Regions from separate parts of the Homo sapiens genome. Here region 1 is linked to region 2. Evidence: promoter capture Hi-C in human tissues and cell types (Jung and others, 2019). All regions are on one chromosome and are shown on one strand. The core of a region is centred on a gene start or on the middle of the fragment in contact, and the rest is flanking DNA. Distances in the headings are between cores, read along the strand shown.

Region 1 (2,700 bases), core at 93-2,592, 45 kb before region 2:
ATAGTCATTAAGTTTAAAAATGTTTATTCTTGAAAGAACTTTAAAACATTATAAAATAAAACAAATTAAAAAGATACCACTTCAACAAAATCTATTTTTTTATTCTTTTCTTGTTTTGATTCTCACAGGCATAGTTTGAATAGACTATAATCATATGACTCACAATTTTTAAATTTTAGCTTTATTTACATTAAAAATACTCTCCTATGTTTCTACACGGGCGTGGCCCTTATCAATTTAATGGCTACACAGTATAACAAGATTTTGATATAATTTACTTGAATTTTTTTTCTATGTTCACATCATTTCTAGTGTTTCACAGCTGTGAATAAGACGCCTATAAGCTTGTTTGTACACATAATTTTTTTTCTCTTTCTGAATGATTTTTCTGGATTAATTATCTTGAGTGGGATTACTGGATCAGGGAATAAATAGGTGGCTGAAGTGCCTTAAGAAAGAAGTTTCTACCAAGTGCCTGTTAATGAATGCTTGCCTGTGTTAGAATTTATTATTTATTCTTATTTACCACTTCCATAAGGTACAGTGCCGCCCCTATCTTTACCTCTGCACATCTTTAATTAACAGCAAACTTGATCATTTGTAATGGTTGTTAATGATTTATATCTCTCATACCATATGGAGGTTTGGAAGCTAAATGCTAGCAGGAAGAATTCTTTTTTAGAGATAGGGTCTTACTCTGTCATCCAGGCTGAAGTGCAGTGGCACAATCATAGCTGTAGCCTCCAGAACCTGTACTCCCTTAAGGGATCCTCCTATCTCAGGCTCCCTAGTAGCTGGGACTATTGGTGCCCACCACCATGACAGGCTAATTTTTAAAAATATTTTTTGTAGAGACAAGGATCTCGCTATGTTGCCCAGGGTAGTCTTGAATTCCTGACTTCAAGCCATCCTCCTGCTTCGGCCTCCTAAGGCTGAGCCACTGCAACTGCTTGGCCAATTCCAATTTAGAAGAGAATCAGGTGTGGTGAATTAAAAGACAGCTGCAAATGCTTTACCACTTCTTCAGTTGAGTTCTTAAATTGAGCTGGCCTGTGACTACTTTGATCAATTGAGTGTGGCTAGAATGATGTTTTGCAGTTCCAGGTCTGGCCTCTGAAAGGAGCCTTGAGCCTGCTGGAGCAAAAACAGAGAGGACCCTGAGACTACATGGAGGGGGAGATGGGCTCTGCTGAGCTCAGACATCCAGCTGTCCCTGCCAAGGTGCCAGGCATGTGAGTGTTGGACCTCTGACACAAGCTCAGAGTCAGCTGAAGTCCACCAACCCCAGGTGACGTGACAAGGAGCAGAAGAATTGCCCAAATTCCTGACCTTCAACATGGTGAGATATGATAAAACGGTTGTTGTTCTGAATTGCTAAGTTTTGGGGTAGTTATCAAAGAGAAGTGGGGTAGCAAAATTAACCAGTTGCCTGATCTTGACAATAGAATAAGATAAAAGAACAAATAACTCAGTACGATAGTGAACAGACTCCCAAATAAGATCCTATTGCCCTAGCCAGCCTTGGACTTTGTCCAGTTCCCTGCTCATGTCTTCTGGCTCAGACCCTTCCTCTGTGTCTTCACTATTGTCATGGTGCAATAGAAAACCATAACACCAGGAAAATAAGGAGAAACCAAGTCCAACTCTAACAAAGAGGTTTTTCTGAAAACCACCTTCATGTTTCTTGAGTTAGGATATACCTTTGAGAATATCACAGAGACCACTGATCAATTATTTGAAATGATGGGTTCAAGAACTGACATCAGCTTTTCAGCCATATAAAACAAAGCTGCCTCATTAATGGATCTTTGCAACTTTTCCAAGTATCTAATAACACATCACTCTGGAATAGTTGTTAAAAGAGTTTTATCTTTTTATAGCCTTCTTCCCCAGGCAACTTTTAACAAGTTGGATCTGTACCCAGACCTTTTTACTGGTCTGACCCCATCATCATCATCTTCCACTTTAACACGATTTTGCAAAGATCAACAGTGATCCCTCCTACCCCTCTCCTGCTGCTGCTTTTTTTTTTTTTGCCTCCAAACAAACTCAAAGTAATATATAAAACTTGTCACTTTCAGCATGTAAAAATAACTATTTTAATAGCTGGTAATGGCTGGTTATTCATTTTTGTTGGGAAAAGTTTATTCATTATAGAAGTATACTGCCTTAGAATTAAAAAGATAATTCAACAAGAAAGCTGGATAGGGGTCAAAATTTGTTTCTGAATTTCTTCAGTTCCTGATTTGTCTTTTTCTCAAATGACCAAGGATGTGAAACTAGATTTGCGGAGGAATTATTCAAAAGGTTAAACTGAGACAAGTCCATAGTTGAAATTAGCAATGAAAGCCTATCCATTCTGGCAGAAATCATGTGCTTTCTCTCAGTCCTGTTTAGCTTATTCAGATTAAAAGCTGATAGTGAGAAAGCTAGATATTTTCTTTGATCTTACATCATTCTGTAATCATTGATTGACGAAGTAATAAAGAAATCCTATAGAACTTGGATGTAAGGTTTCTCTCATTTTCTTTCAAACAACTCTGAAATGTGAGATAATTATGTTTTTAAAATACTGTGTAAAAAAATCATGGGAACTCTTTGTCCTGGGCCATAATTTATTCAGCTCATAAAATGAAAGCAGGGATTCACAAACTGCAACAGGTTCCAAACTCCCTTTTCATTCCTTGTTTCATTTTAAAA
Region 2 (2,700 bases), core at 109-2,608:
TGAAGCATCTCAGGTTCAGACCTGAAGGACATGGTCTATAGATTCAGCATTCTTCCTGTTTGGAATCTGAGAGTTTGGGGAGTGCAAAAACTATTATTAAGAAAGAGGACTGAATCCTTACGCTTACACTTTAACCATTTAACATATGAGACTCTCAGGATCAAAGTTCACCTGTAATTGGTAATTTGGAAATTCAGACCTTATCAAAATGGCATGAGTTTAGAGCATTCAATTTACATGAAATGACTGCCAAGGTGTTTCTCAATTAGCTAACACATAGACAACTACAGGTGGAGGAAAAAACAAGTAAAAGTAGGAACTTTTTACAAGTTTTCTGAGGTTTTGCTCTCTGGTTAAGAAATGAGCAACTCTCCTTAGAGACAACGCCTGAGTTTAATATGCCTCCCACCCCCAACTCTATCAGGGGAAAGCCATTAGGATGATGTAAACAGAGGGTGATTATCTAGAAGCAGCCCTTGTTTTCTGCACGTGAGAAGCAACAAGTGTCCTTTAAAGGCGAGCACAGAACAAAACGCCCAGACCTCCACAGGCAGGTTTCCAAAACTAGCTACACAGGGGGTTTCCCCAAACACCTCAGTCCCTCACACCGAGTGCCCTTGGCTACCCTTGGCATACCCAGACCCAGATGTGGGGGAGGAAAAGCAAGCCAGTAAGAAAAGGCTGTGGAGCCAACTTCACAAGAAGGCGCTGGAGCAAGCCACAGAGCTTGGCGTTCCTCAAAGTTCTTGCATGCCTGGGGAAAAGGGGTCACCCAGGGAAAACTATTGGGCTTCCTCTTCCTAAAACTCCGAATCCTAAACCCTAACGTGGAGAGGTGAAGTTCCCCGAACTCTACACGTGTCCGCAGCGCACCCCTCACGGAAGGCGCCCGCCTCCCCGCGCGCCCTGGGGCAAGTGGGTGCCAGCCCCTGCTGCGACGGGTCGCCCAAGCTGCAGGGCGGTCGGGCCAGAACGTTCCCAGCTCTCGTCTTCTCCCGACCGAGGGGCCCAGGCAGCGTCTCCGCCATCCCCGCACCCGCCCCAGTCCCAGTCCCCGATAAGAAAGACTTGCACCGACCGTGGAGCTCGGCGTGCGCAGACAGCTGCCGGGTCCGCGCGGCGCCTGGGCCAGAGGAAGCCGGAGCCGGCGAGGGTGGGTGGCGCGGAGGGTGGCCGGTGTCCCGGGCTCCGGCGCGGCGGCGGCTTCGGCTGCACAGCTTCCCCGGCTTCAGAAAACCTCCTGGGCACTGCTTCTCCCGGGGAGGTCTCGCTGGGACCCCAATCCCCGGCGACGACCGGGTGGGATGGATGAAGCCTCTCCACCGCCTCTCCACAATCGTCAGACCAGCGGGATGACTGTACGCGCGCGCGAGGGCTCGCACGAAAAAGAAAACTCCGGAGGAACACGCCTCCAGTCTGTCCTCCCCGTCTCCTCCCAAAGCTCCAGACCTTCCACTCCACTCTGGGACCGCAAGAGCGTCCTAACCTTCCAGCTATCCTGGGACGCGGCCACTAAAAAGCACAAAGCTGCCGCCCCCTTCCAGGCCCTGAAGGGCAGGAGTCTTTTTTAACTATTTCCTTCCTGAAAGAAAAGGTGGGGGATGTGGAGGAGAGAGGGTAGAGTTTGACAGACAAGACTCAGAATTCCGAAAGGCCTTGCAGAGGAACCCATCCTCTTAGTGCAGGCAGATTTGATCTGTGACGGAACAACTGGACACAGAGCCAGGGCCCACGGGTGGTTTCTTCTCCGTCTTCCCTGCCGCCTTTGCTTGGCTTGCGTGCTCCCTCTTAAGCTTAGAGGCCGTTGAGGAGCCGAAGTGGACAGCAGTTTACTGGATCAGGTGGTTTGCTTCTATCTTGTCCCTTGTAGCCAGCATCCCACGGCTACAGACCTCCAGCCCAGGGCAAAGAAGGAGCCTCAGGAGAGACTATGGAAGGTTCCAGCGCGTGGCTCCGTGAAACCTCAAGAAATTCAAACAATGAAGAAGCCGACCTTACAGAAAGTGGGTCTCAACGTCTTTATCACGGCAGATACTTTATCCTAAATTGGGGGTGGGAGAGGAGATGAGGGACAAAGGCCACTGCCTGTGACATGTGAGTAAAAACTGGGGTCTCCTCAGGGAAGGCCTGCCTTGGAGTCCTTCAGTGCACTGCTAGAGTCAGCACATGGTAGAAGTGTGAGGTTGGAGCACTGGTCATGTTATATCCCATGCTGTTCCGGCTATCTGCTGCAGCTAAACAAATTACTATAAAACGTAGTGGCTTAAAATAACAACACTCATTTACTCTGCTTATCAGTCTGCAGTTTGGGCAGAGCCTGTCTGGGACAGCTCGTTTTTGCTCCATGTAGCAGGGGCTGGAGGATCCACTTCCAAGACAGTTCACTTGCTTGGTGTTGAGTGTTAGTTTTTCTCCACGTGCGTCTCTCCACAAAGACTTGTGGAGACTTGTGGTTTGGGCTTCCTCACAGCATGGTGGCGGGGATCCAAGAGTGAATGTCCCCAGAGACAGAAAGTGGAAGCTGCCAGTTTCTTAAGGGCTGGGCCCAGAAACTGGCACCGTGTCATTTCTGCTTGATTCTATTAGTCAAGCAGTCACAAATCCCAGATTGAAGGTGAGGGTATATAGAGCCCAACCCTTAGTGTGAGGAGTGTCAAAGAATTTAGGGACCATTTTGTAAAACCATCAAAGAGATCTACA

What was found. The method cuts DNA at HindIII sites, captures the fragments that hold promoters and counts their contacts. A contact is called where the count stands out against the background at its distance.
Region 1: a fragment that was not itself captured here is called in contact with the fragment with the promoter of EDNRA in region 2 in 1 of the 25 tissues and cell types used here (hippocampus).

The regions. Positions count from the first base shown.
Region 1 is chr4:147,524,931-147,527,630 of GRCh38, reverse strand. The region is part of intron 3 of EDNRA (endothelin receptor type A); the gene reads right to left. LOC124900795 (a long non-coding RNA gene) reads left to right here. Exons shown (of 2, transcript XR_007058311.1): 2 at 1,099-2,501. Among named protein-coding and RNA genes, the nearest start is that of LINC02507, 43 kb to the left of the region's middle. The HindIII fragment of the contact is 3,028 bases long and covers 1-2,700 here.
Region 2 is chr4:147,479,755-147,482,454 of GRCh38, reverse strand. It overlaps EDNRA (endothelin receptor type A), which reads right to left and starts at 1,358. Exons shown (of 8, transcript NM_001957.4): 1 at 1,079-1,358. RefSeq lists enhancers at 459-538, 569-668. The HindIII fragment of the contact is 3,954 bases long and covers 1-2,700 here.